Regions from separate parts of the Homo sapiens genome. Here all the other regions are linked to region 2. Evidence: promoter capture Hi-C in 16 types of primary human blood cells and fetal thymus (Javierre and others, 2016). All regions are on one chromosome and are shown on one strand. The core of a region is centred on a gene start or on the middle of the fragment in contact, and the rest is flanking DNA. Distances in the headings are between cores, read along the strand shown.

Region 1 (3,179 bases), core at 122-2,621, 350 kb after region 2:
TTGATGTTGACTGTCCCTCCTTGAAACATTCTTCATCCCTGCTTTCTTGAACATTTTTTCACCAGTTCTTCTTCTGCCCCCTGTCAGACTTCGTTTCATTGTCTGGCTTTACCTTTCCACATACTTGAAAACATTGTGTCCACCCAAACCGTTCTTTTTCTTTCGTCTTTACGAAGATCGATAGATGCATCGCGCCATTTCTCATCAGTTTCCTCAGCTGCAGATAGTGGAGCTGTTGCCATAATTTAGAGTCCTTCATTTGGACAAAGTGTTATAGCTAAAGTAGAGTAGGGGCTTACTTTCTCTTGGAATCTCTTCTAAATTCTAATTTTAATTTTATAAGAATATGCAAATGACAAATATGGAGTATATTTAATATATTCACTAAATATTTATTGAGTACCATTTTCTATCAGGCACTGTACTGGATGCATAATAGAGATAGAGCAATGAAAAGACAGATTTCTTGCTCTCATGGAATGTATATCCTAGTGGTAAATAAAAACACAGGCCAGAGCAGAACTCAGACTGTTAAAATTTTGCTCTCAGGTCAGATTCCAAACAGTTAACACGAGATACCCAGCATTTATAGGTGCATAACAATAAATGCCTTGTTAATCTTTTTAAAATTTTATTTTTAATGTAAAATAAAGATAATCAATATTTGCCTTATTACAAGGTCATTAGTAGCAAATTAAAACTTAGATTATATGTCTTAGAGTCCATTGTTGGAAGTCTAGTTTTCAGACCGGAGTTTTAGACCAGAGGATATTAGGATTTGGATATATCTTAATAAATATTGGAAATGTTGCCAACAAAGCCAAAACAAACTAATTGATTTTATACTGTTTTTTAATATTATATGAAAAGTTATTTTACAGTGACTGGAGTATTCGTTAAAGCATAGAAAACCTAGAAATTTGGTGATCATTAGATTTTGCCCTGACTTTACTAATTGCCTCACACTCATACTGAACTTTCGAACCTCTGCATCTTTGCTCCTCTTCCTTCTGCGTGGAAGATTCTTTTTCCTTCTCTGGCCAAGTCCTCTCCATAAAATAGGATTTCACCAGTTCCGACAACTGGAGTTAATTTCTCTTTCTCTATGGTCTCTAACACTTCAGACCTCTGTTTTAAATACTTGCTATGGGCTATTTTGTGTTTTAGTCATTTGTATTTATGTCTTTTTCACCTTTTTTAGATTTCTGTGCCTTCAAATGTTCATGCTTTCTTTCACATTTGTTTCCTTGGTTATAGTGCCTTAAAATTTGTAGAAGATCTATATGTTTATTGAATTGTATATTTACTGTCAACCAGAAAATAATATGTTATTGGACAAAAAACATGTTGCCTTAGTAATGTCTCTCTCTCTCTCTCTCTCTCTCTCTCTCTCTCTCTCACTCACTCAAAGATTAAAAATGTGTTACACTCAGCCAGGCTGCTGGGGGATGCTTCAGTTTCCTTTACAGAAAACTGCGTGGTGGGAATCCAGGCCAATACAGAAAGGATCAACAAGCTGATGAATGAGTCTCTAATGTTGGTGACAGCTCTCAATCCTCATATAGGTAAGTGTTTAAGGAATAATAATATCATTTTGAATGCAAAATTAAAAAGCTAAACCATTTTTAAGAGACAAGTGGATCAGTGTTTGAGAACAGCAAATTTCTTTTGAATATGGTTTTAGTAAAATCTCAAAATATTTGAAATTGTGTGGAAAGGTACTATATAACTTGTATGGTGTCATAGTTCTTTCAAAACTAGATCTATTATGCCTCATTTTATTTGAAATGTATCGAGAAGTAGTAGTTCAAACTTATTTTGATTTTAATGGAATTCAGACGCCAAATATTCTATGCAGACCATTGGGGAAGGTTATTTGTAAGACCTTCAGTGGGTAATGTCACTAGGTGGCACTGCTGATTAGCAACATTGAATGAACTCATTTTTCTACCTTCCCTAGATCTCTACAATGCTTTAATTTTGTTGTTTTATTCAATTCAGAAATGGAAAGTTACAATTAAAAGAAAAAGTTTATGTATTCATTGCTTATAGTGAAAGGGAGGAAGGAAAATGCAAATATTTTGTCTAAAACCATGCTATTGTATTATAAGTCTTTTTTGGAACTGTAAATATTTCATTATGTAGAATCAAACATACAGATTTGGGTAGTAGACTGACCATAGAGATCTCCATTAAATAAACTGTTTACACTTTTGTAGATTTTGAGGCATTATGTTGCATTATATTATGATGTGTTAAAAGCCTTTTACCCATTCTTCCTTTCTGCTAAGCAGAGGTTAATATATTTTCTGCCTTTCTGTTATAGAACAAGTTATGATTCACTTATTTGGCATAATATGGCTACTGCTTCTTCTATAATCTTGAACTTTCAAGGCAAATTTTATATTCCTGGTTTCACATCAAGCTATAATTACAGTTTTTTAAAATTAGAGCTCATTTGACTCTTTTAGGTAGCTCTGAGCCCAGTATGATATCAGTTTTTTGGTGTGGCATTGAGATTGGTAATAATGTTTGATCCATTTAAAATTATGGTACATCAACTACATCTGGAAAAACACAAAGGGGAACCCAGAGGCTCGTGTGAGCAGTTTTCATCAGATCTTTACTTCAGAATGTGTTACCAAAACTTTAAATTAGAGGTGTCTCCTAAAGTTGAATGATTGGCAAATCTTTATTGGAATCAACTTATTGTGACATAAAAAGAATTGTTAGAGGCCATATGAGAATGAGATGGGTCAACACCACCTCACTAGTTGACTTGGTGTGAGCCTTACAACCCTCTGAATCATGGGTTCCCTATATTCTCATTATGTACCAGGCTGGTTGCCAATAGTGTCTTGTTGGACTTGACAGCTGAAATGCTTAGACTTTAAAGCCATTATTAAAATAAAAGTACTGGATATATATTGATCTCAAGAGTTTAACATGCAAATTCTTTCTCAAAGCATTTCTGCTTTAAGAAAGATGCCCTTTTCAGTAAATGGCATCAATAAATGCCCTTTCAGATCAATAAATGCCCTTTTCAACATATTTAGCATTCACAAATTCAGTTAAGTAATAAAAGTAACTATGCCCATGCTTTCTTTTATAGCTGATTAATAATTGCATATTGACACATGCCATCTTATTGATGATGTATACTGCCTCAGCAAGCTTCT
Region 2 (3,880 bases), core at 551-3,050:
GGCCAGAAATTGTTCAGATATTCAAGAATCACTGCTCTTTAATATTTTAGCTGGGCTCCTCCCTATCAAACAATTTCCATAGGGTAGAATTTACATTAATCACTAATACTACCTCTAATGCCACTTGACTGTTGCTTATTGTTTGTTTAGTCTTTCCAAAGTGCTTTTGCACTTTCACTCCTGACACATGCTTCAAGGAGCCAGGCACAAACAAAACCATGCATGCGATGGCATCGCATTGCCTCTACAAAGGGCATTAATCATAAGGGTCAACGTGCAAATTCAAATAGGAGTAGAAACTCAAAACAGTTTGTAGGAAGGTAAGTATTTCAATTAAAAAACAAAGGAAAAATTCAAAAAGAATTACAGAAATGATCCTGTACTTTTTTAGGACTGAAATTCACTGCTATTAGAACGCATTATTCTAAGCACGAACATTCTGGTAATAAACAGTGGTGGCGCCCAGGGGCAACTCCATCAGCCTCTCTGAAAGCTACCCTAAAGAACTGTGAAACTGCGTCTGCTATGCAAATACAGCTTCAAGACAAATGCTTTAACTTTCCACCCCCTTCCATTCCGGTTGCAGCCCCCTAAGCCCTTTCTATACAGAGATTCTGGAACTGTCACAACCCTTTCTGATGAAACGACCTCCCCCCACTCTACAATAAAAAGTCAGTAATGGGCACTGAGCAGTTGCTTAGCATTTCATAATACAAATCTCTCCTATCAAACGTTAAGTTTGGAAGGAAAGGAAGAAAGAAAGTACAGGATCAGGAGGCAGCTTTACCCTGTTGACACCTTATCAGAGCTCTAAAGGCTCTGGTCCAGCAGTTCTCAAATTTCAGAGGTTCTTAGACTCTCAACTCCACTCAGTGACTGGGATTCACTAGTTCTGCTGTGAATGAATTTTAAACAAAGCAGTTAATCTGGATGCAGGTGGTCCTCAAGCCACAGTTTCAGAAAAACAGTCTCTTACCTCTCAGATGATATCTAAAAAGAGTTTTCTCTCACTCCGAGGAAAACGGATATAATAGTTCATGAAATTTACATAAGTTTCTTCTGGGCCAGGCAAATATCCTCGAATAATTATTTCTTCTTTAGCGTAGTAAGAATGGCTGAGTGCGATAGTAAGAATGACTGTGTACATATCTCAGAGGTCGCATGTGGCACTCGAGGTAACAATAACAGCACCATCTTCACTTTATCCCTCTGTCTCGCGGAGATGTGCAGGCGTGGCCCCCAAGCCCATTCCAGACGACACGTTTCCTTAGGCCTGCAAAATATTATGGGAAAATGTACTTGTCAACATTTAAAGGTGGAGAGATTGCATGTAAAACCTGGACTGCCAGCTTCTGCGGAAAAATGAGGTAAGTCTGGCAACCCTGGCGCCTGCTCCAGCCCGGAATCGTCTGCTCTCTTATCTCCCTCCGTTCACTGAACTGCAGACCTCTGGTTGCCAGACGTCCCCTCGGAACAAAACACATACTCCACTCAGGCTAAGGGCTCCGCTGTTGGGTTGGGAAGATCACGCCAGACCCTCTCCTTCCCTTCCTGGAAGACCCGAATCCCGAGAGGAGGGTCGGAGGTGACGCGCAGGTCGACCCCCAAGGGAACCCACCCATTAGCCTCCGCACAGCCCGCTCCTCTCACCTTCCGAGAAGGGACTCTCCTCCTCCCCTTGAGCGGAGCCGATTGCGGTTGGAGAAACCCGCTCCGACGCCCCTAACTCACTGTGGCCAGAGCACCCACGGCCGGCAACGCAGAACACGGGTAACTTGCCTACACAGCGCGCGAAAGGCTGACCTTTCAATTTGCGCGGGTTCCTTGCGGCCCCGCCCAGAGGATGTGACGTCAACGCGTATCCCGCAACCCGGTTCCGCCTCCTGCGGCTTCCAACTCATAGGGTTGCGTCCTGAGCTCTCCGTCTCGCTGGGTAGACAGCGGCTCACTGCCATACGACTGCAGCCGCTGCTGCCGGCCCGAACTCCGTGCGGCTTCTTGAGGGCGCGAGTGGCACTGGCGCTGATGGCCGATGGTGAGCACCGCCTCGGAAGTTGGGAGTGTTTACACCCGCCGGGGCTGCTGGGCGTTGTAGTTCCCTCCTGGCTGCAGCCCCAGTTCTGGAGGCTGATGTTGAAAGAGCGCCGTCGCGCGTTGATGTTGAGGCTTTTCAAACCTGAAAAAGTTGCTCAGTCCCCCTCGGCGTCATCAGTCCCATCCTAATTCCTTCATTCTCTTTAAAACGCCCGGTTGCCTCTACAAATCGAAATTGAATTCAGTTCACGCTGGGTTCTTTTCCCCATTGCAGTAGTAGTAGTGATTAAAATCTGCCCCTACCATTTTACCTAGAACCCAGCTTCGTTTATTTTTGACATAAGTCGGGGAAAAATTAGCTATATAACAAGACCTTGAAAATGGGCCTTAGAGACAAAGACTTTAGAGGCATTTTGGACTTTCATGGTCACTTGTGGCTAGGTTTCCAATCCTCATAACACCCCAGACCTCGTCGCTGTCCTCTTAGGGATATTGTAATTTAAAAAATTGGAAGAAACCTTAGGCCAGACCACAAAGTAATGTTCTGGGCTCAAAGATCAATAGGAATGATAATGCAGACTCAATTCAAGGAATTGAAGGGGAAGAAGTGAGCACATTGTTAAACATGCTCCCCATTTGATTACGTTCTTTACATCTTTTCCTCTTTTAAAGTCTTTTTATGATCACTCTAACATCTATCATGCCAATTTTAAAGGCATCTATGATGCCTTAAATTTGTTACTAAAATTGTTGAAAAGGTGCCACATTTGGGGAATGTGTTTGGAAAAGCTGTGTTGCTTTCTCCCTGGTTCTGGTCTTTAGAGCTGGGACTAGGAGAGATGAGAAAAGTTATCTTCCCTCCCTCTTCCAAAGGCTATGGTAGACCTAACCCTAAACTAGCTTGGAGTGGACTCTTGGAGAAAGTGGGGGACAATTTCAAACTGCAGTAGATTAAAGAGGAACTTCGATGTGGGCAGCATGTGTTTGTAGAGAAGCCTTCTTACACTCATTGGACTATCCAGCTGTAGTAACTGCTTCAGTACCTAGAATCCAACCATGAATATATCACACATGGGGGTCTTAGGAAGGAACCCCAAAATCAAAAAGGTGTCCATTCCAGTGTCACTGGATCTGTCATAAAACTAACATGAGAGTTTGCTGCACTGTGAACGGCTCATGTATTTACTGTGAATTTGACTCCCAAGGTTTCAAACTGTATTCTTGGCTGCAGTGTTCAAAGACTAAAATTGGAAAAGAAAACACTAGTTACAATACATTTCACTAACAGAATATTTTTACTCTTTGGGAGGACAAAACCATTTGCATCAATGTGTGCAGTAATTTACTACTGCCTTAAGTGTGCCTGTCAGTTCCAGGTGGCATGGAGGCATAAAGAGATGTCCTGTGTCTTCAAGGAACTTAAGATCTAGTTCTGTAGACAAAACACATGTTTATGAGACAGTTAAGTCACAAATCATGATGGCATGTTATTAAATGCTGAAATAAATGGTATATCCCATATGTTTCCAGCTTAAGACTCAGTTCCAATGTTACCAGTTTCCAAATGTCTTCCCTAAGTTAGATATTTGTTTGATATGCACAAGCATTCTGTGATGGCTCTTTGGTCCTGACACTTCTCATATTCTCATTGTGTTTGAATTGTCTTTGCCCTTCAATAGACTGAAAACCTTTTGAGGTAGGGTTGCCAGATTTAGCAAATAATAACGTAGGACACCCAGAAATTTGAATTTCAGATGAACAACAGATAAATTTTTAATATATCTAATGCAATATTTGAGACATATACTAAAAGAAATCCCTGTTTATCTGAAATTTAAATTTATCT
Region 3 (3,851 bases), core at 44-2,543, 290 kb after region 2:
TTGCCCAGGCGGGTCTCAAATTCCTGGACTCAAGCGATCCTGGCCTCAGCCTTTCAGAGTGCTGGGATTACAGGCATGAGCTATCAGACCTAGCTTCAAGAAGGACTTTGTAGTGTACATAGTCTTGCTCTTCATAACCCATAAAAAGGAGCAGCAAACAAATCCAATAAATCATATGACAAGATTAGTGTCATGTGCTTTACTCAAAATGACAACTGATGAATCAAACATTAGACTTACCAGTCAATAGATCCTTGTTTAGATTTTCTCTGCTTACAGAAAGAATATACTGCAAGAAAAGTAGAGTAGATACTGTTTGTTTCTGGTGAATGGACAAATATAATTCTAAGTTATTCACTCAGCAATAAAACATATTTATTATTTAGCAGAGGGTTGCAAGCTTAGTTTTATAACCATTTCGCTAAGTGACCTTTGATTTTTTTGTTAAAAAAGATCACTTTAAACAAACACATATAATACAATATCCAAGTTTACACTTAGGCTTTTTCAAAGTTTAATACTTTAAAAATCAAATCCTTCTCTTGTAGCTAAAATATAATTTTCATCAAGAGAGTTCTGTTTTAAAAACAAATCATAAATGTAATATTTTCAGCTTAGGTCTCCAAATTTAGCTCTTAGAAAAACTTCAGTCATGACAGTATCACTAGAATCAAAGTGCTATTTCCTGAAGAGACAACTTTGAAGGATTTCATTTCAATGTAAAAAGTGTGTGTGTGTGCACGCGTGTGTGTGTGTGTTGGTTGTGGCAGGGATGAAGATTGATAGGAATAGGACCAGTCCTTGCATGGAACATGTGTTGGTTGTTTCTGACTTTATAGGACAATTCAGCAAAGCTGACCCTCCCTTGAGGCAAGGTAGACACAGCGCCTATGGGCGTACAATACTTTTTTTTTTTTTTGAAACAGAGTCTTGCTCTGTTGCCCAGGTTGGAGTGCAATGGTGAGATCTCAGCTCACTGCAACCTCCACCTTCCAGGTTCAAGTGATTCTCCTGCCTCAGCTTCCCAACTAGCTGGGATTACAGGTGCCTGCCACCACACTCAGCTAATTTTTTTTTTTTTTTTGTATTTTTAGTAGAAATGGGGTTTTGCCATGTTGGCCAGCCTGGTCTCGAACTTCTAACCTCAGGTGATCCACCGACCTTGGCCACCCAAAGTGCTGGGATTACAGGGATGAGCCACAGCGCCCGGCCACTTTTTTCCTCCTGACTTAAAAATAAACTAAAATCAAAACATTTTTATGGACTCTTAAACGTATTGTAAAAATGTTTTGATTTTAGTTTATTTTTAAATCAGGAGGAAAAAAGTGGCCAGGCATGGTGGCTTATCCCTGTAATCCCAGCACTTTGTGAGGCTGAGGCAAGCTGATCACTTGAGGTCAGGAGTTTAAGACCAGCCTGGCCAACATGGCGAAACCCCGTCTCTACTAAAAATACAAAAACAAGCCGGGTCTGGTGGCGCGTGCCTGTAGTCACAGGAAGCTGAGGCAGGACTGCTTGAACCCGAGAGGCCTAAGTTGCAGTGAGCCGAGATCACATTACTGCACTTCAGCCTGGATGACAGAGTGAGTGAGACTCTGTCTAGAAAGAAAGAAGGGAGGAAGGAAGGAAGGAAGGAAGGAAGGAAGGAAGGAAGGAAGGAAGGAAGGAAGGAAAGAAAAGTATTATGTAATAAAAAATATGTAATAATAAATCTGGCCTGGATTTTATTAATCTTTATACCAATGAACCCATAAAATCTAATTTTTAATATTTATCCTTTTTCTAGAAAAGGAGCCCATGGAGGCCAAAGTGCCCACCTGGGGCCCATTAAAGTCATAATGCAAGCTGGTAATTCAGGGTGAATCTATTCTTTAAAACTTTAAAGCATATAATTTTCCAAATTATGGGACATAACAAATATTTTTAACACATATACACTAATTTATAAATCTTCACCTCATCCAAAAGTAGAAGTATACATTGGCAGCTAAATCTATACTTGGTGTAAAAATAACTTGGTCAGTGGCAATGACTGAAGAGGAAATTCTGGTCTTTGTATAATTTAAAATGAACAGAAACATCTTCATTCTCTGCCTCAAAGCTAGGTTATTAATAGACTGTATTTCAACAGAAATCAAACTTGCTATTTAAATTATGTTAGGAAACATTCAAATTATAAAGCTTTTTTAATTTTTAATTTTTTAAAAAATTTTTGAGACAGGGTCTTGCTGTTCCCCAGGCTGGAGTGTAGTGGTGTGATCATGGCTCACTGCAGCCTCAACCTCCCGGGCTCAAGCGATCTTCCCACCTTAAGTCTCCCAAGTTGCTGGGAGTACAGGCCCATGCCACCATGCCCGGCTAATTTTTAAATTTTTTTATAGAAACAGGGTCTTGCCATGTTGCCCAGGCTGGTTTTGAACTCCTGGGCTCAAGCAATCCACCTACCTTGGCCTCCCAAAGTTCTGGGATTACAGGTGTCAGCCACTGTGCTTGGCCCAAATTATGAAGATTAATTTACATGGGGAAAATATTTTCTTTCCACATCAGTCATCTGGGAACTGATAGACTTGTCATCCCTGCAGGAACACCAGAATGTCCCTTTCTAGTCTACTCCATATCTTTGGACAGTATTATATCATAACCAAATATTTGAGTCGTTCCCATCAAGTCTTACTTCTCCAATATTTAATTCTACAAGATTGATCTGATGAAGAATAAATAAGAATAAACAAGTCAAGCGCTATAAAGTGGCCTCTGTAACCAAAAAGATAATAGTAAAACCTAAAAAAGGTTAGATATATCCTTTGGAGATCTGTAAGACATTAGTTGTAGTACTGACTACCTCAGACATATTAGAAAAAAAGTTTATTTTATCTATTCTCAATACCTTCAAATGAGAATGTTTTCTACTAAGGGGGAGCCATTTCTCTATTTTGAGCATAAGAGGTTAGGTTAGGATTAAGAACTGAGGAGCTCTGACCTGCTCTGTATATTAGAGAATATTTTGACAGTTTCCAGGGCAATTTGGGGAGAAGATGGGAGGACCCAGCAAGACAAGAAGAATCTGGACATCACATTGGAGAAAGTTCAAAAGAAAAAACAGCTGAAGGAGGGAGGCCAGGGAAGGGAGTCAGAAAGGATTTTGGAGGTCAAAATTTGCAGATTAGAGATTTCTAAATTATCGCCCGTGCCATCCACAACGAGGTCTCTTCATGACCCGTAGGTCTTCAGCAGACCCATGCATCTTTTGAGTGAGTGTTGTCTGTGGGAATTGGTGGAGGAGATATATTTCAAATCCGGACCACCATGGTACACGGCCAATACCAGGTGAGAGGGAGTGGGGTACCAAGAGGCAAAGGAGGCCAAGAGAAGGTGGGCTCCCGGGGATGTGAAGAAATCCCGGAGTCATGGGAATGGCTTTGTGCTCCCACAGGCTGTGGAACTGACCAGGTAAAGCAATTTTATGCAGTTCTTAAAGGGCAAGGAGGCCGCCATATTTGACTGAGATATAAAAGTGACGATAAAGAAAAACTGAAGTATGTGGGGCCCCTATAAATTTTGCATAAACTGAGTTCTTAAGAATTGAGAAGTAGCAGGAATGATGCGGGAGGGGCCGTTTCCTCCTTGTAATGCATTGAAGGCCGCAAAAAGGGAACTCACACCAACGCTTTCACTCTCTTGGGGAATGTATGCACGCTCTTTCTCTCTCTCTCTCTCTCTCTCTCACACACACTCACACTCACACACACACAGACAAGGTGGTGGGGTGATGGTGTCATCTCCAAGTCCCTCTCCTCATTTAGCTTTTCTGATATTTGAACCGTATCTTATCTATGGATACATTACTGGTT

Evidence for each region. Contacts are between HindIII fragments. The CHiCAGO score rates a contact against its expected background, and 5 or more counts as called.
Region 1: a fragment that was not itself captured here is called in contact with the fragment with the promoter of EXO1 in region 2 in 2 of 17 cell types (neutrophils and monocytes); the score reaches 5.9 in neutrophils.
Region 3: a contact is called between a fragment that was not itself captured here and the fragment with the promoter of EXO1 in region 2, in 7 of 17 cell types (activated CD4 T cells, naive B cells, non-activated CD4 T cells and 4 more). The highest score is 8.7, in activated CD4 T cells.

The regions. Positions count from the first base shown.
Region 1 is chr1:241,498,823-241,502,001 of GRCh38, reverse strand. FH (fumarate hydratase) reads left to right here. Exons shown (of 10, transcript NM_000143.4): 9 at 1,412-1,565. Among named protein-coding and RNA genes, the nearest start is that of FH, 19 kb to the left of the region's middle. The HindIII fragment of the contact is 3,610 bases long and covers 1-3,176 here.
Region 2 is chr1:241,846,124-241,850,003 of GRCh38, reverse strand. EXO1 (exonuclease 1) reads right to left here and starts at 1,800. Exons shown (of 16, transcript NM_130398.4): 1 at 1,651-1,800; 2 at 977-1,273; 3 at 788-892. RefSeq lists an enhancer at 1,765-2,104. The HindIII fragment of the contact is 5,044 bases long and covers 1-3,880 here.
Region 3 is chr1:241,552,050-241,555,900 of GRCh38, reverse strand. KMO (kynurenine 3-monooxygenase) reads right to left here. Exons shown (of 15, transcript NM_003679.5): 5 at 241-289. Among named protein-coding and RNA genes, the nearest start is that of KMO, 22 kb to the right of the region's middle. The HindIII fragment of the contact is 1,781 bases long and covers 403-2,183 here.